Regions from separate parts of the Homo sapiens genome. Here all the other regions are linked to region 3. Evidence: promoter capture Hi-C in 16 types of primary human blood cells and fetal thymus (Javierre and others, 2016). All regions are on one chromosome and are shown on one strand. The core of a region is centred on a gene start or on the middle of the fragment in contact, and the rest is flanking DNA. Distances in the headings are between cores, read along the strand shown.

The links. Contacts are between HindIII fragments. The CHiCAGO score rates a contact against its expected background, and 5 or more counts as called.
Region 1: a fragment that was not itself captured here is called in contact with the fragment with the promoter of PMP22 in region 3 in 2 of 17 cell types (total CD8 T cells and total B cells); the score reaches 6.8 in total CD8 T cells.
Region 2: a fragment that was not itself captured here is called in contact with the fragment with the promoter of PMP22 in region 3 in 4 of 17 cell types (naive B cells, total CD4 T cells, total B cells and 1 more); the score reaches 7.3 in naive B cells.
Region 4: a contact is called between the fragment with the promoter of ADORA2B here and the fragment with the promoter of PMP22 in region 3, in 2 of 17 cell types (erythroblasts and megakaryocytes). The highest score is 7.3, in erythroblasts.

What each region holds. Positions count from the first base shown.
Region 1 is chr17:15,972,362-15,978,658 of GRCh38, forward strand. ADORA2B (adenosine A2b receptor) reads left to right here. Exons shown (of 2, transcript NM_000676.4): 2 at 2,318-3,385. The coding sequence ends at 2,981. ZSWIM7 (zinc finger SWIM-type containing 7) reads right to left here. Exons shown (of 5, transcript NM_001042697.2): 5 at 4,199-5,802. The coding sequence ends at 5,686. Among named protein-coding and RNA genes, the nearest start is that of ZSWIM7, 24 kb to the right of the region's middle. RefSeq lists an enhancer at 6,192-6,297. The HindIII fragment of the contact is 740 bases long and covers 4,108-4,847 here.
Region 2 is chr17:16,003,493-16,009,821 of GRCh38, forward strand. TTC19 (tetratricopeptide repeat domain 19) reads left to right here. Exons shown (of 10, transcript NM_017775.4): 5 at 339-395; 6 at 709-770; 7 at 2,982-3,076. Among named protein-coding and RNA genes, the nearest start is that of TTC19, 6.8 kb to the left of the region's middle. The HindIII fragment of the contact is 7,124 bases long and covers 1-5,206 here.
Region 3 is chr17:15,263,692-15,270,623 of GRCh38, forward strand. It overlaps PMP22 (peripheral myelin protein 22), which reads right to left and starts at 1,635. Exons shown (of 5, transcript NM_000304.4): 1 at 1,463-1,635. LOC124903931 (a long non-coding RNA gene) reads left to right here. Exons shown (of 2, transcript XR_007065632.1): 2 at 1,765-2,218. The HindIII fragment of the contact is 20,659 bases long and covers 1-6,932 here.
Region 4 is chr17:15,941,941-15,948,030 of GRCh38, forward strand. ADORA2B (adenosine A2b receptor) reads left to right here and starts at 3,190. Exons shown (of 2, transcript NM_000676.4): 1 at 3,190-3,643. The coding sequence starts at 3,309. RefSeq lists a silencer at 2,746-3,365 and an enhancer at 3,193-4,007. The HindIII fragment of the contact is 5,899 bases long and covers 82-5,980 here.

The DNA.
Region 1 (6,297 bases), core at 3,228-5,727, 710 kb after region 3:
GTTTTCTCTTCCAGAGATTACAGAAGGATTTTATTTCATTTACTTAATACATTACATTGATTATGTTCATTTATACATTACATATGTATTATGGACCAGTTGTTAATAACAAAATGTGTACCTTTGCTATAAACCATGGATAGACTAGTGTATAGCAAAATGTCTAAAAGGGATATTATGGCATCTGTTGCTCTTATAAGGTCACTTCCTTTCTTGGTCACCTCTTAGGCAGAGGTGGCCGCTCCCATTCTCTTGCCCCATAACTCACTTGTCATAGAGCCTGCTTATCTGATACATGTTGTATCTCTCAACTGGATACTGGTCAAACCTCTTAAGGACTAGGATCTTGTCCCTTTGTATTGGTATCCCCAGTAGTGGTTTCTAGTATTTTTTTGTTGTTTGTTTTTTTGAGATAAGGTCTTGCTCTGTCACCCAGGCTGGAGTGCAGTGGTGCAATCACAGCTCACTGCAGCCTCAACCTCCTGGGCTCAAGTGATCCTGACTCTCCCACTTCATTCTCCCGAAATAGCTGGAACCACAGATATACACCACCGTGCCCGGCTAAGTTTTGTACTTTTTTGTAGAGATGGAGTTTCACCATGTTGCCCAGGCTGGTCTCCAACTTGTGATCTAATGGCTTGAAGATGACCAAAAAATTTAATATTTGCTATTTCCCAATTTTTATCAACTCTGCTGCTAGTATTTCTCAGTAGACAGGGGCACTGCTAGACTCTTGTTCTCCAGCAGTCTGCAGAGGTATTCAGAAATGATTCTGCCCATAGTCCTAGGCAAATGTCTTGTGGTGTTTGTGGGAAGCCAGAAAGATCCTTGCCTGGAGCCACAGGTGGTGCTGACTCCAGTGCTTACTGCCTCAGGCCTTTGTTCAAGTGTCACCTTATCCATGATGTCAGCCTCTTTAAAACTACAGTCCTGCCCATCCTGATCTTTCTTACTCTGCTTTTTCATGTTTCATACCACATATATCTCCATACTGTTTATTATTATGTTTACCCCTGCTAGATCTGAGTCTGTTAAAATTTAGTAGGGATCTCTGTGTGTTCTGTTCACTGATGTATCTCAAGCACTTAGAACAGGGTTCCTCAACCCCTGGGCTGCAGACTAGTACTGGTCCGTGGCCTGTTAGGAACTGGGCCACACAGCAGAAGGTGAGCAGGCAGGCGAGCATTACTGCCTGAGCTCTGCATCCTGTCAGATCAGCAGCATTCGATTCTCATAGGAGCTAACCCTATTGTGAACTGTGCACGCAGGGGATCTACGCTGTGCGCTCCTTATGAGAATCTAATGCATCACCCCCCGCCCCTGGTCTGTGGAAACATTGTCTTCCATGAAGCTGGTCCCTGGTGCCAGAAAGGTTGGGGACCACTGACCTAGAACAATGCCTTACAGAAGACCTAGACTCAAAGAGCGGTACCTAGGTAGGTAGGAAGTATAGGAAGTCGATCGGTTTTTGGAAACTGTGACTTGAAGCAAAATGATGCACTGTATAACAAAGCCAATTTTACCACAGTTGATACTGTTAAAAGAAAAACTTCGGCTGAATTCAATTTAAAAGAGCTTAATTGAGCAAAGAATGATTCACAAATTGTGCAGCCTGCTGAGCCAAAGCAGGCTCAGAGACTCCAGTGCAGTCACGTGGTGGAAGATAATTTATGGACAGAAAAAAGAAAGTGATGGACAGAAAAAGGAAAAGTGACGTACAGAAAATGGAAGTGAGGAACAGAAACAGCTGGATTGGTTATAGCTCAGCATTTGCCCTTTTTGAACAGGGTTCGAACAGTTGGCCACATTTGATTGGCCAAAAGTCGAGGATTGGCATGAGTGCAGGCTATAGTCTGTTTACACGTCCACTTGTTGTAGTCCACGATGTACAGAGAAACCTTTAGGCCAAATTTAAAATATGTAAGGAGGCAGCTTTAGGCTAAACTTGATTTAACAATATAAACAAGAGTTAACTTCCTATGACATATACTTCAAGTCACAGTTTGAGAACCCACCGAGGACATTGAGGACTTACAGTACTCCCTTAAGGCTTCCCCACCTCTTGTCATTGGCCATCCTGTGTCACTAAACAGAAAGGAGTTGCTAAGTCAAGAATGAAGATCTTACTGAGTTTTCTAGAGCAAAGCTGCTCATCCCTGCTTGCATGTCTTTAGTATTGAGGGTAAAGGCCTTAGTGCCCTGGAAGGTGAACTTTAGAGGTTGTTAAAGGGTCATGGAAAAAAGAGGAGGTGGGGTCTTGGATTGTGGTTGCAGAGCGCTATAAACTGACCGTAACAGATGGTATTCTTTTAAACAGGTATAAAAGTTTGGTCACGGGGACCCGAGCAAGAGGGGTCATTGCTGTCCTCTGGGTCCTTGCCTTTGGCATCGGATTGACTCCATTCCTGGGGTGGAACAGTAAAGACAGTGCCACCAACAACTGCACAGAACCCTGGGATGGAACCACGAATGAAAGCTGCTGCCTTGTGAAGTGTCTCTTTGAGAATGTGGTCCCCATGAGCTACATGGTATATTTCAATTTCTTTGGGTGTGTTCTGCCCCCACTGCTTATAATGCTGGTGATCTACATTAAGATCTTCCTGGTGGCCTGCAGGCAGCTTCAGCGCACTGAGCTGATGGACCACTCGAGGACCACCCTCCAGCGGGAGATCCATGCAGCCAAGTCACTGGCCATGATTGTGGGGATTTTTGCCCTGTGCTGGTTACCTGTGCATGCTGTTAACTGTGTCACTCTTTTCCAGCCAGCTCAGGGTAAAAATAAGCCCAAGTGGGCAATGAATATGGCCATTCTTCTGTCACATGCCAATTCAGTTGTCAATCCCATTGTCTATGCTTACCGGAACCGAGACTTCCGCTACACTTTTCACAAAATTATCTCCAGGTATCTTCTCTGCCAAGCAGATGTCAAGAGTGGGAATGGTCAGGCTGGGGTACAGCCTGCTCTCGGTGTGGGCCTATGATCTAGGCTCTCGCCTCTTCCAGGAGAAGATACAAATCCACAAGAAACAAAGAGGACACGGCTGGTTTTCATTGTGAAAGATAGCTACACCTCACAAGGAAATGGACTGCCTCTCTTGAGCACTTCCCTGGAGCTACCACGTATCTAGCTAATATGTATGTGTCAGTAGTAGGCTCCAAGGATTGACAAATATATTTATGATCTATTCAGCTGCTTTTACTGTGTGGATTATGCCAACAGCTTGAATGGATTCTAACAGACTCTTTTGTTTTTAAAAGTCTGCCTTGTTTATGGTGGAAAATTACTGAAACTATTTTACTGTGAAACAGTGTGAACTATTATAATGCAAATACTTTTTAACTTAGAGGCAATGGAAAAATAAAAGTTGACTGTACTAAAAATGTATACTTGTTGCCAGGAAGGTGACCTCAAAAATTAAAAGTATAATTATTCGGCCGGGCATGGTGGCTCACACCTGTAATTCCAGCACTTTGGGAGGCCAAGGCAGGCGGATCACGAGGTCAGGAGTTCAAAACCAGCCTGTCCAATATAGTGAAACCCCGTCCCTACTAAAAAATACAAAAATTAGCTGGGTATGTGGCATGTGCCAGCTACTCAGGAGACTGAGGCAGGAGAATCATGTGAACTTGGGAGGCGGAGGCTGCAGTGAGCCCAGATGGCATCACTGTACTCCAGCCTGGGTGACAGAGTGAGACTCTGTCTCAGAAAAAAAAAAAAAAAAAAAAAAAAAAAAAAAATATATATATATATATATATATATATATATATATATATATATAAATAAAGTATTCAATCAAGAAACTGCTGTATTAATTTAGGGAAATGATTGATTGATAGTCTCATAAGTCAAATTTTCATCACATAATTTTAAGCTCCATTCTTTTCCATATACAGAAAACTACCCGTGGGGAAGAAACTGGTGAAATGGGATCCCTCCTCTACCAAATTCTGCCTTCTAGAGCTAGATAGATAGATAGGGAATTTTGCTTCTCTCCAAATTTCAAGTTTGGTTAAGTTCTTGGAACTCAAAGTGTGAAAATTTTATGAAGTAAAATTATTTAACTCTGTGTATATTAGGTTAAATAAAAATAAAACTTAAAAAGACAAGCTTAGGGTGCTGCATTGGCTTGTTGCATCTACCTTCTAAACTTTACCCTGAAGGCTGCTGGAAAAAAAGTAAGTTATGCTGAGTCCAAGTTTCCTGAGTAGCAGAAAAGTATTGATAAATTTTATCTGTTGCACTTTTTAACAAAACAAAAAGCATCTGCCAACCACAGAACATTGCAACACCTAGGCCCTGGGCTTTCCCCCAGCATTCATTCACTAGCACCTCATGTTTTGGGGGCACAAGCACAGGGCTTTCTTAGGCTGTAAAATCACCTATATCATCTGTCTGTCCACTGCTTCAACTCCTTCTGCAGTATCCCTGCAACAATATTACATGCTTATGAAATGCTGCAGACAGGGAATTCCTGTCCTTCTAGGATCCTCTTCTGGCTGTGGGCAGCTTTACCATAAGTTCTTGTCTTCTTATGCTGAAATTGATTTCATTTTCATCTTCACGTATTATTGCTTCTTTGCTCTCTCGGTGTCCAACTGAGTCTCATCGCTCTCCCTTCTAATACTCCTTCTGTCATCTATTTTGTCTTTTCTTCTTCAGACTGAAAATCCCTGGTAGTACCTGTAGTTTCCTTCCAGGACACGATTTTTAGTCTGTTCCTTCAATTGCCCTGTTGTAAAGATCAGAAGTGCAGAGTGAAACCAGTTCTTCCCTTGTTCTCGATACTAACTCTCAAACAATACAGTCTACTTAAGCTGTTTTGGCACAAGCATCACAGATATTTGAAGCTTACAGAAACCAGAACCTCTAAGTCTTTTCATACCTGCTACTGTTTAGCCACATCTCTGCTCTGATCTTCTGTTGCTGCTCAATAGTTTCCTGGACCCAAGGAAAAGAACTGACCTACTCGTCGAAACTTCATCTTACTGTTTGGCCCACCATTCCAACCTTTTAAAAATTACTAGTAATTCAGTTAGTTACTTAAGACTAAATAGGGTCAGGCGCAGTGGCTCATGCATGTAATTCCAGCACTTTGGGAGGTCGAGGCGGGCAGACCACTAGGTCAGGAGATGGAGACCATCCTGGCTAACACGGTGAAACCCCATCTCTACTAAAAAAAAAATACAAAAATTTAGCCGGGCATGGTGGCGGGTACCTGTAGTCCCAGCTACTCGGGAGGCTGAGGCAGGAGAATGGCGTGAACCCGGGAGGCGGAGCTTGCAGTGAGCTGAGATCACGCCACTGCACCCCAGCCTGGGCGACAAAGTGAGACTCCATCTCAAAAGAAAAAAAAAAAGACTAAATAATGTGGACACAACATGATATTAGGCTTTATTTGAATTTAAAATCTTGATTCCATCCAGGGACATTTTTTACCGAAGCGTCTCAGAGACTGGCTCAGGGTATTTCTTGACAAGACTGTACAGGGCTTCTCATCATACACAAACCCTCCACAGCCCACGGCTCCAACCCACAGCACCTCCTGCAGTCCTGGAGGGAAAAGGGACAGTAACATGAAGTGTCTGAAGATCCATTTCACCTCTTTTCCATGTGAATCATGACGCTTTCAATGCATTTCTTGACAGGATTCTATTTTGAAAGAATGATGCTCAATCTGTACCTTTTATGCTTCTTGTTTCTTCTCCATCAATAATATGTCAGTCAACTGCTTGTCAGAGACACTTAGCTGCTGACAGGTCCTCATAACCTGACTCAGGTAAACTGCCAAGAGATGCTTGCACTGGAATATAAAACACACACACCTATTAGAAACAGGCAGGGCCAGGGCTGGCCAGTCTAACCAAGATTTCTCATTACCATCTTATTTGGCAGGAGAAGACTAGAGCATACAGATTACGGGGTCTCTAACTGATTGTCTAAAAAGTGCAGATGGGCCGGGCATGGTGGCTCACACCTGTCATCCCAGCACTTTGGGAGGCTGAGGCGGATGGATCACTTGAGATCAGGAGTTCGAGACCAGTCTGGCTGATATGGCAAAACCCTGTCTCCACTAAAAATACAAAAATTAGCTGGGTGTGGCGGTACATGCCTGTAATTCCAGCTACTCAGGAGGCTGAGCCATGAGAATCGCTTGAACCCAGGAGGTGGAGGTTGCAGTGAGCCGAGATCACGCCACTGCACTACAGCCTGGGTGACAGAGCCAGACTGTCTCAAAAAATAAATAAATAAAAACTGCAGATAAAGATGATGAGACAGGAGTATTCTCTTTAGAAAT
Region 2 (6,329 bases), core at 395-2,894, 740 kb after region 3:
CGAGGGGACTCTGTAATCAAAAAGATGGAGAAGAGAATGACTATTAGGAGACAGTTTGTAGTCTCTGCCACAGTGGGTTTGGATAAGAACTTAATCTCTGAGGTTGTTTTCTACTCATCAGAGAGTAGTTTAAGGTACACAGAGGATGTTGAGGGTCCTGATATTTTGATCTGTTTTCGCTTCAAAAGGGTACTTTTCTGTGTGTGAGTGTGCGTGTGTGTGGGTATATGGGTTTTACAAGGAATGTTGCATCAGACTGGCACTTAGAATCCAGGGTCATATATATATATATAAAATGGGGCCCAATTAAAAGAAAAATCTTTTCCTTATGCTTTTAGGCTGAACAACTTTTTAAAGCAACAATGAGTTACCTCCTTGGAGGGGGCATGAAGCAGGTAAGGACATTGCCTAGTATTGGCCCCTCACTGAAGCAGTTTTCAAAACAGTCTTGTCTCCTGAAAACTCCTCCTAGCCCCACCACATGCTTTGGTCAGGAAAGGTGGAGTTTCCCTTCTGAGATCTCTATACAAATTGCCATTCTTTCACTAAATGCAACAGCATGCTTGCCAAGGAATTCACAGTTGGCTCATCACTCTAAAAGAATAAAGACTGTGGCTTTGAGGCCACCGTCAGTCTGGAAGTTGATCTGAAATATGCCATGAAAAAATTTACTTGTTATGAGTTCCCTTCATTCTCTTTCTCTCACAGGAGGACAATGCAATAATTGAAATTTCCCTAAAGCTGGCCAGTATCTATGCTGCGCAGAACAGGTAAGTACAGCAGCCAGGGAGTAGGACTGTGGGCAGGAAACTTTGACTCTGGGATGTTACATAATATTCATTGTCTACTGGTCATCTGGGTCTCCCAGAAATTGGGTGTCACACTCAAAGTGTTCCATCCCTCATCTTTGAAATTGTCAGTCTTTTTCCAGTTTGCCCCTACTGTTTCCATCAGCCTGCCTAGTGGGGCACACAACATCTCTGGCTGCCCTGTGACAAAACTAACTAAGTTTTCTGTTGCTGCTTGAAGTGGGAAGGGAAGTTAGAGTTAGAACTTTAGTTTAACTTTTCCTAGAAGAGGAAAGAGCAGTGTGAAAGCTGCTGGGGATAATATATTAATACTCTGAAGAAGCCATTTTGCTGGTATAAATAGAGTTCAAAGATGAAGCATCTAGGTTGTAAGCAGAGAACTCCTCTAGAGAGTTGTATTTGGGATGAATTTAGGGAGAGACCTAAGACTAGCTTCCCTTCAGGTTTTAGTGGTGCAGAAGTTGGTGCGAGAGGTTTGGAGTGACATGGAGCCTGATGCTGTAGAAAGGGTGCTCACTGAGGCCAGGCCCTGGCACTGTTCCCTACTGTCCTACTCACCAGCTCCTTTGTTCTCATCAGGACCTGCATAGTCTCCTTGCATTTTGATTGGACACTAGATAGGCTAGAGCTTCCTGGAGCCTTTGACTTCAAGTCTTTTGAGGAGCTTTGAGCTTGGCCCATGCCAGGGAACACTGCAGCTTGGTCAATCTTTCTTGGAGTTGTAACAAACATGCCTAGTTCTTGATTGGGTATGAATCCCTAGGGTAAGAAGAAGCCCAGAGCCTAATAAACATTGTTGAGTAAGACAAATTCATAGTCTTCTAGAGGTGAAAGCTAGTAACAATTAGCCTCTGAGTTACATGGTACTCTGTACTTTTCATTTTGTTTTATTAAGAGAAGCATGAGACTAGAAAAGACATGGCCAGATCTGAGGCTTCGAAAGGCTGATATAGGTTATGAGGGGAATTGTTTGTAGACCTCTTGCTCCGACTGGGAGCGTCTTCTGGGCAGTGTCCACTTGCCCTGTGTTATGGCTAGAGAGGGCCCTCTTGCCAAGTTTTGAGCGTAGGGAAGGAAGGGGATGCTTCTGTTCTTCTGAGAACAGAGCAGAACAGTAGGGTCATAAGTTCTCCCCTGGCAAAGCACTAGAGAACAGGTGAGCTTTTTAGTGCCACTTCTGTAAGAAACTAGAGCCAAAACTGAAGAAAAGAACCAAAGCTGAGCTCCTAAATGGAGAAGGGATTTCTGTCACATTTCCTCTGCATCTCTGTAAAAAGCAGCAGTCAGTCGGCCTGCTTGGGTTGACTCAACCCTCTCCAGTTGATTGAGGGTCCAGGGCTACAGAGTTGGGTTAAATGACTTCTATTGCCATAGCTAGGAGTCCCATTTCTGCAAAAGAAACTTTTATCAGAGACTTATAGCTTGAAAGAAATATAAAATGACTAAAGCTCCTCAGAAGCTGTATGAGGTCAACAGTTGGAATCCTCACTGTAGGGCGGCCTGAACTGTTTAGGGTAGTATTACTTTGAACAGGGGTAAGGCTTTCACACATGGAGAAGTTGATTCACTGGAGGCCATCTGTTAGTGGGAGATGATGAATACTGCTGGCTATGTCAGTTATTAAAATTAGGGCAGCATTCCTAGCTTTTTGTGTCCTAAGTTATATTAAATGGATGACTTAAAAAAACTGCTTTGAGAAATGGCAGATTTGACACTACTTAGACTTTAAGCAAAGTTCCCTCTTCCCATTTTACACTTCCTTTACTGATAATGTTTAAACTGAGCTGGAAAAATGAAGATAAAAAGAATTTGTGAAAAGGTAAATGGGCCGGGCGCAGTGGCTCACGCCTGTAATCCCACCACTTTGGGAGGCCGAGGTGGGTGGATCACTTAAGGTCAGGAGTTCCAGACCAGCCTGGCCAACATGGTGAAACTCTGTCTTTACCAAAAATACAAAAATTAGCTGGGCATAGTGGCGGGCACCTGTAATCCCAGCTATTCGAGAGGCTAAGGCAGGAGAATCGCTTGAACCCCGGAGGTGGAGGTTGCTCTGAGCCGAGGTCACGCCATTGCACTCCAGCCTGGGCAACAAGAGCGAAACTCCATCTCAACAGAAGGAAGAAAAAAAAAAGAAGAAAAGGTAAATGGCTGATTATTGATTTTGCTTTACAGACAGGAATTTGCTGTTGCTGGCTATGAATTCTGCATTTCAACTCTAGAGGAAAAAATTGAAAGAGAAAAGGAATTAGCAGAAGACATTATGTCAGGTAGGAAACCCATTATCTGGGCATTGCCTTTTCTCCACAAAAGGCTTTACTTTACACTTTTGAGAAATGGAAAGAGATCTAAATTGGGAAGAGGGAAAGTTACCTATTTTGCAAAATAAGTGTCTGTCTTTAAGGTATCAGCAGAAGTTTTGGAATAAGATGTTTTATTTAAAATATTTGACTGCTGTTTTGGTGGTGGTTTTTTTTTTAACCCCCTTGGTAACATGGTCATAATTTATTTGTTAACTTTTAGTTACATATAACTTAAGGAAAATTGGGGAGCAGAAGGAGAAGGTGTTTCTCGTATCTCTTAGTTCAGCTACCAATCAAAATGCTTATTACGTTTTAGCCCTAGATATACAGCAAATTAAGAAAGAAGAGAAAAAAAGCTCATGTTTTTACAATCCATCCTCACTCATTCTGGAGGCTAGGAATAGAACTGGATGAGCAGGAAGCTCTCTAGCTCTCCACCATTTTGGGTTTCTTAATTTGGGTTGAAGTATTGAGAATTTTCAGATTTGACATTTATTCAATACCTACTCTATACCAAGAGCTACCGAGATGGTAGGGATACAGCAGTCAACTCTTCTGTACCTAGTGGTCTTCTAACTCTCTCTTGAACATAGAGTAGTCCCCCGTTATCCATGGGGAATATGTTCCAAGACCCCCAGCAGATGCCTGAAACGACTTCTAATACACTGTGTTTTTTTCTTATATATATGTACCTATGATAAAGTTTAATTTATAAGTTAGGCACAGTAAGAGATTAACAACAATAACTTTTAATAGAACAATTATAACTATATACTGTTAACAGTGTCACAGACAGGAGATTCATTCTTATTGTAGATCTTATCAACCTCAGCATACAGTTTTTTGTTTTTTGTTTTTTGTTTTCTTACTAAGTTGAGAACTTTCACCTTTTCATTAAAAGGAAGCACTTTATGACTTCTCTTTGTCATATTCAAATTGCCAGTATCACCACTCTCACACTTTGGGGCCATTATGTAAAATATGGATTGCTTGAGCACAAGTACTGCAACATTGTGGGTTGATCTGATAACTGAGACTGCTGCTAAGTGACTGAGGCCAGCTGCCGTATACAACTTGGGTACACTGGACAAAGATGATTCATGTCCTGGGCAGGATGGAGTGTGACAGTGTAAGATTTCTTCATGCCACCCAGAATGGCATGCAATTTAAAAACTTACGGATTATTTCTTGAATTTTTCATTTAATATTTTTCGGACTCTGGTTGACTGCAGATAACTGAAACCCCAGAAAATGAAACTGTGGAGTAGGAGGGATCACTGTACACCAATTTTTTTGTTTTCATCACTCCACTGAAGCTACCTTTATCAAAGTCACCAAATCCAATGGTTACTTCTCAATCCTTAACTTACTCATCAGCAGCTTTAACTTAGGGGATCACTGTCTCCTACTGAAAATACTTTCACTTGGCTTCTGGGATGCCTCACTGGTCTCTCTAGTGAGGTGAATAGACTTCCCTACCTCTTAATGTTGGCACGCCTTAGGGCTGTTTTCAGCCCTATTCTCTTTTCTCTCTGCCCCAACACCTAGGAGATATCTTTTAGTTCCATAGTTTTAAATATTAGATTTATACCTTCAGCCCCAACTTGCCCCCAAATGGCAGACTTATAATTATGATTGCCCACCCGACATCTTGACTTGAAGTCTAATGGTCATCTCATACTTAACATGTCCAAAATAGGTCTCAGTTTTGCCGCTCACAACTTGTTTCGTCACCAGTCAGCCCCAGATTTGTAAATGGCACACTACTCATTTAGTTGCTTTGGCCAAGAACCTAAGAATTGTCCATGATTTCTTCCTCATTCCTCATATCTAATCCATCAGCAAGTTATACTGGATCAGCCATCAAAATATATCCATACTGACCATGTCTCATCCCATTACCCTACTGCTTTGGTCCAGGCCATCACTGTTTCAAGACCTCAGTACCTTTGTATCACCTTTAGAATAAATTTAGAATCCCTGCATGGACCTGTAAGGCGCTTATGACCTGGGCCCACCCACCTCTTCCATGCCATCTGCTGCTCTCCCCTTGCTCGTTCCAGTCTCACCACACTGGTCTTATTCTGGCACATTCCAAGCTTAGTGCCACCTCAAGGCCTCTTTGCTTGATATTCCCCCTACCTAGACTGTTCTCTCTTACCTTTCTCTGGCCAACTCCCGTACTTCACTCAGGTCTCTGCTCAAATAGCACTTCCTCAGAGTGCTCCCTTCACTAAAACTATCATCTCTTCCCACCTTACTATTGCTCTACTCCTCTTTCCTTTACTTTTCTTCATCACACTTAAAAGTAGAGGTGTGTGTGTTGTGTGCTTGTGTTTCTCCACTAAAAGTATGTTTTTGTTTAAAAATTTTTAGTCTTTGTCTTCCATATCAAAGAAGGATAGAGACTTCATCCATTATACTCAGTGCTAAATCCTCGGTGCCTAGAACAGTGCCTGGCACATAATAGAGGCTCAATAATTACTGAATGAAAGAACAAAAGACCCAAGAAAGACCAGCAAATAAATCCAGTTTCAGTGCAGTGTGGAAGTGCTTTGAGGAAATCCACAAGAGGTGTAAAAACAAGTCTAGCTGTCAAGTAAGTCACTTCTGAACTATTTACACCTTTGCTGTCTTTCATTTATAGTGTTGACTATGGTTTCTTAGGAGTGTAAAGCTATATTTTCTGATTCAAAAAATAATACCAGTAAACACTGAAGAAAGTTTAGAAAAGCACTAAGTAAAAATCATCTGTAATCATACTATTAAGAAAGAGCTACTGTTTTATTTATTACTACGGCTTTTCGGGTTACATTTTAAGAAATAAATTTGGGATGATACTGTATATCCTACTTTGTAACCTGAGTTTTAACAATTTAGTAACATATTATGAAAACACTTTTTTTTTCCAGGCAAAGGAATTCTTGTTAGATAGAGCAAGCTAATTTCTATTATAAATATTATTTTTACATTTTACTAGTTGCACAGTATAGAAAATGTGTTACATGATTCTTCATCTTATTTTTTCTAGAAAAGGAATTCCTACCTATTCAGTTTTGCACAAAGCAAATCCATTATCAAATTTACGTGCTTTTTATTGACACAACTATCTCTATTCTAGGATAACATTACTTAATTACATAAAATTACATTACTTAATTACATAAAACCTTGCTCTAGGATAATTATTTTGTTACCTATGTTGTAGACATATATGTAC
Region 3 (6,932 bases), core at 385-2,884:
CTGCTATTTTAGCTAATTGTATATTCTTACGGTAAGTAAAAATAAATTTGAAAAAGATCTTCAAACAATGATCTTTTTAAAACTATCGTGTTATCAGATTAAAATGAAGTGTACTTGTAAACACTGCATTTACAGTGCCCGTTATATGCCAAGCACTTTGCCTGGACTTTATATGCATGGTCTGTGAGAGGCAGTATGGTGCAGTGGTTAGGCACTCTGGCTCTGGGCTCCAACAAACCTAATCACCCTGCTTACTTTTGTTGTGAATTTGGGCAATTTCTCAAGTTCACTGAGCTTCAGTTTTCTCAGGTGCAAAAGGAAATAGTAATGCCTGCTTTAAAGGTTTATGGTGGTGATTGAAGGAGACAATATGTACAAAGCAGTTAACATCGTGTCTGCAACATAATAAGGGCCCAGTGCCCAAATTGCCACCACTATTATTATATCACATTTAACTCTCACATCAACCTTTCAGGGAAGACCTGACCACCTCTGCACTAAAGTAGCTTGTAACTCTGATAGGTAGGTAGGTAGGTAGGTAGATAGATAGATAGATAGATAGATATAGATAGATAGATAAAGATTTATAAATGAAAGTGCATATGCAAGTAGAAAAAAAAGTCTAAAGACATGGCAGTGTTTTCTTTCCTCCACAGGTCATTTTATAAGTTAGATTTGCTCTAGAAATTATTACTTTGTTTTATGCCATTTGGACATTTATTTATTTAACCAACACTTATGTGATCACAACATACTCAGGACTGTTCTAAGTAAGCACTTTAGAAATATGAGCATATCTAACTCAGGGTTTTCTTTCCCTTCCTTTGTGATTTTCAAATAAACTTTTTAATAAAGTCTAATACACATACAGAAAAGTGCATATATTGGGTGCTACAGCTCGCTTCTTCCTTTCTTTTGAACCCAATAGTTTAATCAATAACCACCCAGGTCACAGCCACACCATATACTGCCAGACAGGTAAACCCAACCCATCTGTCCCTCACTGCCTCTGGCCTCCTGCCTGGTTCTCAATGGTGGCAGAGGAAGTGCTACTCAGTGCCTGCTGACCAGGCTTGCCACACCCAGAGCCCGGCTGGCCAAGGCTCTGCCACAGGTGGCAGCTTCTCCCTAACCTGCTTACCAAGGCCACCTGCCAGCTGTGTGTGCACAGCTATTTTCCATGGGGGAAAAAGCATCTAGATTCCTTTCTTCCTTTCAATCTGGATGCATTAGGGTTTCTAGATGCTCTCAGATGGCCCCCCACCTCCCCAGCCAGAGTATATATCCACCTTTTAACCAAGGATATAAAAAGCCCTCTGAATCTCCAGTCAATTCCAACACAAATGCACCATCTCTCCTGCAATCCTTTTCATTTGCGGCTTGCAGGGGGTGGGAAATTAGGCAATTCTTGTAAAGCATAGGCACACATCACCCAGAGGCACAGTTTGCCAATAAAACTCACCCGGCCAAACAGCGTAACCCCTTCTTCCAAGCAGATTTCTTTGCAGCCAAATGCAAGGGATGTTAAGGCAAGACCCTCCCCACAGGGCAGTCAGAGACCCGCAGCCGACAGACTAAGCCTGCAGCTTCCAACCAGGCTCCCCGAGATGTTCCCTGGTGGTGCTCCCTGTAACTGAAGCCAGACCAGGCGTCTTTCCAGTTTATTCAGGGGCTGGTCCAATGCTGGGATATGTCATGGTGGCCTGAGAGGTTCTCAGCCTCTATTATTTAAAGAGACAGTGTCCAACTTTGTTTGCTTTCCAGAATACAATAATCCCAAGAGGCCCTGCAGGGCATGGAGAAACTGGAATCAGAAGGGAGAAGAGCTTTGAGTATGCCTGAAGCCTGTGATGCCAAGACTGTTCTCTCTGGAAGTGCCAACCTGTGTAATAGCCAAGAGGTCCCACTGGCTCCCCTCCCCTCCCAGTGAATTCTGCAGAGATTAAATATACTGTGGGAAGGATCTGTGTCTACAGTGTTACATACGTGCAGGTAAGTTTTATTTTAAATAAACTTCCTTTTAAGGAGCCCAAACATTGCACAGCTAATCTCTCACAGCATCACAGCAGTGAGCCAAATGTCTCAAGAGTCACCAAATCAAGCCTCCTTTGTTCCAACCCCTGGTTGGAAGGACTCCCTGTTACCTGCCTTGTCTGCCTAGACCCCATCGCAAATGATCACATGTGTTGTACATTAGAATAAAACTTAGGGAAATGTGTTCTTCCGACTCTGTCTTTAATGTGCCCGAATCAAGCTGACCTTCATGAGATAATTCAATGCAAGTAAACGAACCTCTATTGAAAACTATTGAAAACTTTCTAACCTGTCAGGCAGAATAGGCTGGAAGAGCAATTGGAAATTCTTGGAGAGGGAAGTAAAGGAAGTTATGGCATATTTAGGTTCTTTGCAGCGTACCACTCCAGCTCCCAGAGAGTCCTCCATCCCTTGAACCGCTTCTAGCTGCAAACTCTGACACAAGAGGACTGGTTTCATTGCATGAGTTTCCTGGAATTCTGGCACTTGGGGCATAAGACTTCCTCTTGTGTTAGGGATCCCCAGTCTGGAGAGACCTGCAGAATTTGGAGGAGTCCCTCCCTGTCACACACTTTACGTTTGATTGGACTCTCCAGTCACAAGGGCCTCTCAATGGCCCTCTCCCCTGTTCTGCCCACAGCCAGCATCTGCTCACAGCCAGCATCACAGCCAGTGCCAATAAAATAGTTTCACCTTTCTCTCTTTGCTGAAATCATTTTTATTTTTCACAGCAGTGGTTCTTTAGAATCACTCAAGAGCTTTGCAAATGACCTAGCCTGGGCCATGGTCAGAGAAGCTGACTCAGGTGTTTTGGGATGGGGCTCAGGTATGGGTAATTTCCAGTGTCTTTCTCCCCGCTGGATGTTTCGTTGTCCAGCCAGGTTGTCATGTGGAGTTAGATTGTCGCTGATTTCCTTCCAGCTCCCTTCTGTTGTGGAACCCAAATGGAGATGAGGTACAGTGTGGGCTGCTGCAGTATTATGCAAGTTATAAGTCTGTTCTGCCAGGCAAAACGGTGTGTGTGTGTGCGCGTGTATCTGTGTGTGTGTGTGTGCGCGTGTGCGTGTGTGTGACAGAGAGAGAGAGAGAGGAGCCTCCCTCAGTCCTCCTCTGACATGGTCTGTACGGGGACTGGGAACAGTGAGCATGGTTTTTGCAGCCTCTCCAGACAGTCTTTTCCTGGGTACTGCCATGATCAGCTCCAAAGGCTACACGACAGAGGCTGCTGTCCGTCAGGCCAGGATCAAGCCTGAAGACACGTAAGATTATTTCTGATCTAAGAGCTAAAGATTCAGAGGAAAAGGGGTAGGGCCTGGTGAGTGTGGGGCATGGCTTCTGGCCAGATAGGAGCAGTCTGATTAGCCCTCCCTCTCTCCTTCCATGAGCTCCACATTCTGAGACCTGCTCTCTTGGCCTCACGTCTCTTTTGCCCAGGTCCTCCATCTCCAGCAGCCAAACCCCGAAGTCCCTGTTGGCTGTCAGCAGTAGAGCTGTTCACTGTTGTGTGCCACTGGCCCTGTCTACCAGATGCCAACACACTTGTCTTTACCCATCTGGGCCAGACTCTCTTCCCTTCCCAGAGTCAGGTGAGGAAAACTCCTTCCTCGTCTCCCATTTCCAATAACCTTTTCTCAGCCAAATGGGACCCCTATCCCATGCATCTGTGTTGAGCAATGTCTCTGCAAAGCTGTAGGCTATATCCCACTGAGCCTCTTGCAAAATAAACACATAGAATAGTCACCAAATAACATTTATTATTATTTGCTATCCTCCCTTCCATTTACAGATAGGAAAAATGAGAATCGGGATTCTCTGAGGAAACACAGTTGAGTCAATGAGACTGGCTATTTCTAGCACCTGAGCTGTTCTGCTACACCACGCTCCATCGGCTCAGTAGCATCAGTTATCCGCAAGTCCTTGATAATGATGATAATAGGTTATATTTACTTCGTGTTTAGCATATGCCAGGCACCATCTTGAATATTTTATATGCATCAAATCACTTAATCCTCACAACCGTATGAAATAGGCACCCCATCATCCTCTTTTAGAAGAGGGAGAAACTGAGGCACAGCGAGATGTTCAGTCACTTTCTCAAGACACACTGCAAAGAAATGACAGAGGCTGGATTCCAACCAGGCATTCTGGCTACAGATCCCGTACTCACAGCCTGGACTATCTCACATTCTACCGTGCCCCTAATTGTGCCCAGCACGTTCCTAGCATATCTTCTCATCATGCTTCCATAGACACTATCATTTAATGTCCTATTTGTATGAAAGATATTCTCACATTATACATATTTATGCATTCACGTTTCTTTTTCCATTAAAAAGCAAGAACATATCCTAAGACATCCATTTTTTTTTCAGCACCAGTCACATTTAGTACAGCTTTCAAGAATCCTGTCTCATCCTGCCAACAAGGCTGTGTGCTCCTCCGAGGACATTTGCATTCCATATGTCTGTATAGCATAAGCACTGGCAGAATCCTGCCTGTAGGTGAGATTTTAATTTCATAAGAATGAAATGTTGTCCATGACAGTGGAATCCCAGCAGACTCTTGAAGAGGGAGGAAACCCTTCCGCACTTTATAGCTAATAAAATGCTGTTAACATATGGCAGTATCTTATTTAAGAGGAATCATTATAATCATTTTCTATGTGAAGAAACTGAGGCTTGGAAAATTTACAGTGTTTCCTCCAGGGACTAGCTAGTGAATGCCAGGGCTGGGGCTTAAAAAAGTCCATTCCTCTGACTCCCAAACCTGTAATTTTTTCACTGTGCAGGCTCCCCAGAGAGAAAACCAGAGGCAAGTCTGAATTTGGTGTTTGTCCAGGTGATGAAGTTGTTGTTGCAGCATCTATCCCACCAGGTGCTCAGTCAATATCTGAAAAGTGTTTACACTAAGAATGAAGTCTTTCCTGTGTCCTCATAGCCAGCAGCCTGTGTGGGAGTTCTTGGCCAGCCCTGGACACAGCTGGCCTGGAAGGGTCCTCAAAAGTCAGTCCTGCCTCATCTAGACTCAGCTAGACTGTTTTGATGTCGAGTGAGAGCAGCTTGTTGAAAGAACAAGCAAGGCAGGGAAAGAAGGCAGAGGGGAAGGAAGGAAGGAAGGAAGGAAAGAGGGAGGGAGGGAGGAAGGAAGGAAGGAAGGAAAGATGGAAGGAGAGAGGGAGGGAGGGAGATATAGATAGGAAGAGGGGAGGGAAGAGAAGGAGAAGGGAGAAGAAAAGGAACAGAAGGAGCCAGTTTGACTTCTGTGACAGAATCTTCTACAAATAAGCAAGTTTGAAATTATGACAGGTCCCAATCCCTAGAAGATATTCTTTATGAACAACACAGACGCAGTCAGAAAGCAACATAAAGACACACACAAAAAAAAACTCACATTGGCACAGGACTGTTCCCTAAATGACATCTTTAAAATATAGAAAGGTATCTTGGAGTAAATTGTATATTAACTCCTTCACCTGTGGGAGAGAGAAGTCACAGAATTATTATGTTGTGGCAGTGGGACCAGACCAAGTACAAAGGATTCTCTGTTCACAAATGCATTGTTGCTTAGGAAAGCCAGATTCCACAGATGCAAGTGGAGGGGGGAAAGCAGTCTTTTCTCTGACATCTCATGAGTTAGCAGCTAGAGGATTGGGGAGCAATTTAAGCAAGAGTCAGAAATGGATGTGTACTTGGGATTGCAAACTCTAAAACTTTTCTAAGACTGTTTACTCCTAAGTGAAAATGCTTCTGCTCCAGTAGGGCATAGGTTCAAATAAAATGGGGAAGCAGAGCAATCTTGCCACACGGGAATGGACGGAATGGGGAGGAATGCAGGGATTTTCTAGGCCACTGCAGACCAGGCATAGAAATGTCGAGAAAAGCAGCCTTGGCTTGATGTGAGAGATTGTCCTTATTGAGAGAGGTGCACAGGAAGGCCCATGTAACCCAAGGAAATGCCTGCTTCAGGCAGTCGAAGCCACACCAAGAAATGGAGCATTAATCTCCAGCAAGGACGAGGTGAACGCAAACGGTCCTGGATGGGACCCTGGGAGGACAAGCCCCACGACGCATCATAGTCCCCACAATGCATCATTCTGTGTGCACTTCTGAGCCTAGGGAGCACCAGTTGTACTTAAAATGAACTGGAGACCAGATGTTTTCTTCATCTCTGAGTTCCTGCACCACTTATCAAGTGTGAAACCTCAGCTAATCCAGGGAAGTTCACAGACAAAGGTCAAATCCTTTCGAGACGTTCAAGGGAAAGCCGGGCAAAACTTCAAGAATGTTTACTCTTCATTGTTAGACTAGGAAATATCTAATCTAGAGGGTTTCAGTGGTAAGCCTGGGCCTCATATAATTGTTTTACTTTAAATTTTGGGCTCAGAAATTAAAATTCTAGAAATGTATCTTTAGAAAGTCATGGATATGCAAAAATTTGGCTATAATGGTATTCATAGCCAAATAAAGGTGATATGTTTTATAACAAAGAAAAGTGTGAACATCCTAAATCTCAAAGACTAGAGGAATGATTGAGTAACTTTTGGTACAGTCATAAGATGAAATATTATGTAAGTATTAAAAAATAATGTCCAAGAAGAATGTTTAATGAAATGAAGAGCCATTCGTGATGGATACAAAATAGCACACCTATAATTTGTTGAGCACTGGCTATGTGCCAGGCACTGTGCTAACCCTCTCATTAAATACCTCCAACAATCCCACGAGGGGAGAACTGCCGTGACCCCCAAGACACCCACACAGTGAGAAAATGGTGGAGCCAATATATAAACTTTGACCACTTGAAGCCAAGACCCCAGGTTCTTGACCACTAAATGCCACCAAATGTACAGTCTTTGAGTACCACTGTGACAAAAATGAAAGTAAAACTGAAAGAATGCG
Region 4 (6,090 bases), core at 1,940-4,439, 680 kb after region 3:
ACTTTGTGAAGAGGGGCGGGTTGTTGTGTGAGTCAGAGGGTACCAGGTGGGGCTGGGGTGGGGAGAGGACGGAGAAGGGAAAGCTTTGCTGGTGAGGGACACCGGGGACCTGAAACTCAGTGGACTGCAACACAGACGGGAACAGGGCACAGCCCTGTGCTGGAGACTTCCTACTTGGGTGCTATCGTTTGGAAATCTGTCCTCCCAAATCTCATGCTGAAATGTAATCCCCAGTGTTGGAGGTGGGGCCTAGTGGAAGCAGTGGAGCAGTTTCTGATGAATGGTTTAGTGCCATCCTTTTTAGTGCTGTCCTCATGATAGTGAGTGAGTTCTCACTAGATCCGGTTGTTAAAAAAGGTGTGGCACCTCCCCCCACCTCTTGCTCCTGCTTTCCCCATGTGACATGCCTGCTCCCACTTCACCCTCTGCCACTAGTAAAGCTCCCTGAGGCCCCTTGGAAGCCAAGCAGATGCTGGCACTATGGTTTACAGGCTGCAGAACTGTGAGCCAAATAAACCTCTTTTCTTTGTAAATTACCCAGTCTCAGATATTTCCCTATAGCAATGTAAGAATGGCCTAATACATTGGGTGATTCAGGGAAGGTTTCCTGATGGAGGTTGGGCTCTGAAAAGGGGAAATGGTGATTCTGGGCACAGGAAATGCTAGAGCAGAGCCCAGGCCCAGCAGCTGCAGGGCGTGCAGGAACCACTCATAGCAACCAGCCAGACACCGTTCGCCTCCTCTCCCTCTGCAAAATCTCCACTCACTCCTTTGGATATTGCTCTGACCATCCCCGCCCCGTCCTGTGACCTCTGCGGACTGGCATCCCAGCAGGATGGCCCAGCTCTCCAGCCTGGCAGCCAGAGCCTTCTCCACTAGGCCTTTTTCTCTTCACTCTCCTGGGCATGGCACCCCTGGGCAAACTCCTAACTACCACCTCTGCCTGGTATAGCTGGAACCACCCCACTGTGAAGCCTCCCTCACTCTGTAAAAGCCAGTACCCCAGGAAGCCTCCTCTAACCCTTTGCCCTCTGCCACTCCAAGGAAGTGCTATTGGAGGAGCTGCCTGATCTCTCTGGCCTTCTGTGTGGCAGCAGAAGTTTGTGTCAACTGCTGTGGGAACGTGATTGGTGGAGCAGGTGATTCCAGAACTCACGTGACCAGGACACGGAATGTGTGGGCTTGCCAATATTTTGATATATAAATCAACTGTTTTCATTATGGAAGTAACAAAACCTCAAGGGAAATAGAAAAAAAAATTCCCTGTAATCATCCCACCCAGCTAGGAGGTCTACTGTGTGTGTTTTTGACATTTTGCTGTCCTCGTTGGTGCAAGGGCAGATGTGACTGTTTATGCCTGTGGAGGGCAGAGGGGTTTTTCTTCTTCTTGTCTTTTTTTAGAGACAGGGTCTCCCTCTTTTGCCCAGCCTGGATGGAATGCAGTGGCATGATCCCAGCTCACTGCAGCCTCGAACCCCTGGCCTCAAAGGATCCTCCTGCCTCAGCCTCCCAAGTAGCTGGGACTACAGGCACCTGCCACCGTGCCTGGCTGATTTATTTTTTATTTGTTTGTTTAGAGATGGGGTCTCCCTACATTGGCCAGGCTGGTCTTGAACTCCTGGCCTCAAATGTTCCTCCTGTCTTGGCCTCCCAAAGTTTTGGGATTATAGGCGTGAGCCATGTTGTCGTCATTACAGCTACATTGAGATATAATTTATGTGCCACACAATGCATGCCTTTCAAGTGTACAGTTCAGTGGCATTGAGGTATATCCACAGAACCGTACAACCATCACCACATTGAGAAAATTTTTATCACCCTAAAAAATCCTTTACAAAATCCTTTACCCTTTAGCAGTCACCCCATGTTTTGATTTTTGCTTTACATGATTTTACAAGCATCTTTTCCTGTTGCTGGAAAATCTCCTTACCCATCCTCTTTGGTGACTGTCAGCAAAGGCTTTCGGGTGGTGAAATAGCGTGGCCAGGAGTGCTCTAGAACAATGGTGTTGGTGAGGGCTGCAGAAGCTGAGGACCCACAGGCAGAGAGGGAGGGATGGTAGAAGCAGGTGGTGAGGAGGGACTCGGGGCAGGACTTTGGGGGTAAAAGGAAGCAAGTCTCTGGAAGCAGAACCAGCAGCACTGCTGATCATTGGGACGTGGAGAAAGGCGAAGGCTCAGGGTGTCAGCAAACTTCCTAGGGTGGGTGAGGGTTGCCAGGTCAATAACGAACAGGGTCCCAGGAAAAGGCGGCAGCACAGGTTTGGGGAGAATTAGAGATGAGCTTGGTTTTGGTCTTGTTGGATTTGGGGGCACCAGTCTCTCTCCTGGCGAGAGTCGGCAGTGGGGTGTTAGGATCTGGCCCTCAGGAGGCTGTTAGGGCTGAAGCAAGAGATTTGGGAGTTAAGGGTGTGAGGGCCACGTGGGAGGCCTCGGGAGCCTGTGCCGATCCAGGGTGAGTGTGAAGGAAAGAAAAAAGAGGGCCCGGGGAACACTGGTATTTTCGGGCGGTGGACGAGGATGGGACGGCCACGAGCTTGTCTTAAGGTAGAAGGCAGAGCGGGGCCGTAGGGGCAGTGGCGCGGGCGAGGGTGGAGAACAGCGCTGAGCCTCGCTGGGAGGCGGCCGGAGGGGGCTGCAGCCCCCGAGGGCTCCTTGCAGTCCGGCCCCGCAGCCTGGAGACAGCTCCGGTGGTGCTGCGCTGCCCGAGACTGCTGCACGAGCGGGGACTGCGGCCTCGGCTCCCTGCCTGCCCGGCAGCCCCCCATCCAGTCGGCCTGCCCGGGGTGCGCAGGGTTAGCCTGGAGTGAGCTCGCCCCGCCCGGGGTTGCGCGGCCCTGGGGGGTCCTCTCGCGGCGGCTCCTGGGACCTGCTGGCGCCCCGGGCAGAGCCCGGCCCCATCCCAGGAGTCGCCCGGACTGGAAGGCAGTGCGAGCACTGGGACACAGCCTCCGAGCTCGAGCGTGACGGGAAGTTGGGGCAATTTGTTAGTTATCCGCCGCCACCAAGACGCGGCACGGCGCCTGGACCGGAGGGGCCCCGCGCGGGCGCGAACTTTGGGCTCGGGCGAGTGGGTGGTGCTCCGCCCAGCCCGAGACGGGCGGGCGCGCGGGCCAATGGGTGCCGCCTCTTGGCCGCGGGGGGCCCCGACCCGTGGGTCCCGGCCACCAGCGCCCCAGCCCCGAGGCTCAGAAGCGGCAGGCGGAGGCGCGGTCCGGGCGCTATGGCCATGCCCGGCGGGTCTCACGCGGCTGCCCCTCGCCCGGCGCGCCTTCGGTAGGGGGCGCCCGGGGCCCAGCTGGCCCGGCCATGCTGCTGGAGACACAGGACGCGCTGTACGTGGCGCTGGAGCTGGTCATCGCCGCGCTTTCGGTGGCGGGCAACGTGCTGGTGTGCGCCGCGGTGGGCACGGCGAACACTCTGCAGACGCCCACCAACTACTTCCTGGTGTCCCTGGCTGCGGCCGACGTGGCCGTGGGGCTCTTCGCCATCCCCTTTGCCATCACCATCAGCCTGGGCTTCTGCACTGACTTCTACGGCTGCCTCTTCCTCGCCTGCTTCGTGCTGGTGCTCACGCAGAGCTCCATCTTCAGCCTTCTGGCCGTGGCAGTCGACAGATACCTGGCCATCTGTGTCCCGCTCAGGTGAGGCGCTCGGCGTCGCCCGAACTCGGGGCCCCGTCGGAGCTCCGAAATGGGTCGTCTTCTCCAGGCCGGGGTTCCTCCCTCGGGGGCCCCAGACGGGCCAGGCTGGGGGCGCGCGGGGCGCTTGGAGGGCTGGTTCCCAGCCTGGCCACCCCGCAACGCTAGACCAGTGCGCCCGGGCACCCAAGACATCCCAGATGCGCGTCGCTCTAAGGAGATCTGCGTAGGGACAGCTCTAGGGGGTCCGGGGAGTGCGGTCCCCGGCGCCCGGGGAGGCGCCGTGGAAACCCCGGGGAAAGCGTCACCCCCGGGGAAAGCGTCACCCCCGTGGGCGGGTGGAGCCCGGGGCGCGGGAGTTTTGGTGATCACATCTCCACTCCTGCCACGAAGGCCGTTCCTAACACTCGCCCGCAGCGGCGGTGCAGCGGCAGTCCCGTGAGTGCTGCGGCTCCCGGAGGCCCGGGAGGTTCCCACTAAGGGCAAGGCAACTTTGGACGCTGGGCATTCGCACCGTCAGAATGGACACGCATGAGCCAGCTTCAGAACGTGTCTGCTGCGGAGAGGCGGCCCGGCCCATCCCAGGGGAAGGTGTCCGTTAACTTTGGGGAACGCTACGGACTCAGATTATATACTTTTAAAAGGAGTTACAATGCTTCCTCGTGTCTGGCAAACGGCCTTACAGCCTCACTGCCCTTGTGTAACTATTTATCTCCTGCTGCCCTGTTGGGAGCGGGCTGAGAAGTGCAGAAAATGGTGGCGAACTTACTTGTCCACTCTTTCTCCCACACTGAGAAAATCTAGGATTCAGGGGATGGAGTCAGCCAGCGACCAGAGTGGATTCCCAGTTGGAGCTGATGACTTCAACATTGAGAGTTTGTTGAAAGTATTTATTCTCTGTCTTTGGTGCCTGGGCCACTTTGGCATTTCTGAGGAGAGCTTGAGATCTCTTTAAATTTGGAGCTGAGACAGGGAAACTAAATCACAGAGTAGGAAGGAAGGGAAGGAATTCATTTATTGGGTGCCAACTCTGTGCAGACAGTTTATAATAAACGTGTCCCCAGCAGTCCTTGCAGTAGTACCAGAGGACGGGTGCTGTAACCTTCATCTCGTAGAGGAGGGGTGATGGCCCAGGGAGGTTGGAGTCTTGCCCAGGATGGTGTATCAGGGATGGGTGTCAGAGCCGGGGCTTGAACTCACAGCTGGCACCGTGTCCCCACCCATGCCATCAGGCCACTCTGCAAGGCCATGTGTGGCACCGTGTTTAGGAGTCAGGGAGAAAAGTGCTCTGCTGTTTTGGGAGGAGGAGCCTGCCTGCAGTAAACTGGTGGTTGTAGGGGAATGTGTTTGTGGGAATGGAGCCGGAGAATGCTCCCAGAGGCCATTTGAGTAGGCAGATGTGTTGGGCCTGGTCCTTGCAGGTTGTTTCGTGGGTCCCAGCAGGAACAGGAGCCTCCTGCTTGGGAGGGCTGTGAGCCTTATGTGGGTGTCTGGCCACTCCATGTGCTGCTGCCCGTGCTGTTGGACCAGGAGGCCTTATGTCTCCCATCAGGTGTGACAGCCCAGGGATTTCCAAGGCTTAGGGAGGACAGCAGTTTCTTCTCTCTCTTCTGGATCCCTTCCCTGCCTTTTGGTGTCATCGTTGTTACTTGATGGCATTTTGGATGTTTTGCATCCAGCAGAGCAGTCACAAGCCCCAGCCTGAGTTGTCCATCTAATGGAAACCCCTTGGACTTGCCCTGGCAGAGACCAGAGACCCAGAGAGGAGTTAGTGGAACAATCTCCCAGGCCACAGGGAGCAGGAAGTTCCATGAAAGTTTAAATCTGTTCCTTCTTGTCCTGGTTTGTGCTGGGTGAGGTCTTGAAAAAAATGGGTGTGGGTGTGTTAAGGGGAAAGTGCTGTGAATCACAGGCCCTGAGCTTCTTTGCATTGCCAAGGGCAGGAGGGAAGAACACTGAGGCTCGCCCCATCCTGCCTTCCTGGCCCGTCCAGAGCTTGGAGGTCTGGAAGAGGTGCACAGGCAGTCCCCAGCTCCCTGCCCCAGAGTTAGTCGTCTGACCTGGCCACAGCACCACCCCAACCCTGGTGGGTGGGAGAGGTGTACTAGGGCCCCCAGGGCTTCCCTCTCAGGGGCTGGTGCCTGGGGCAGGCCTTCCCTCAGCTGGCCTAGCAGTTCATGGCCCCTTGGGAAGAGGTTAAAATACAGATTACAGGGCCTCACCTGGTTGTACTGAATCAGAATCTCTGGAGTGGGTGTCGAGGGGATTCCAGCAGTGGGATCTTTAACCAGGGACATTTGGGTCCAGCGATCTAAGAATCCTCCTAGATTCAGGGCCTGAAGCTTTCCTCACTTGACTGACACAGGCTGGGTGCATGGCGCCCCAAGCACTGACTTGGCCCTGAGGCCTTCCTGGGGTTGTGGAACTCCAGGTGAGAGTAAAGTTGGAAG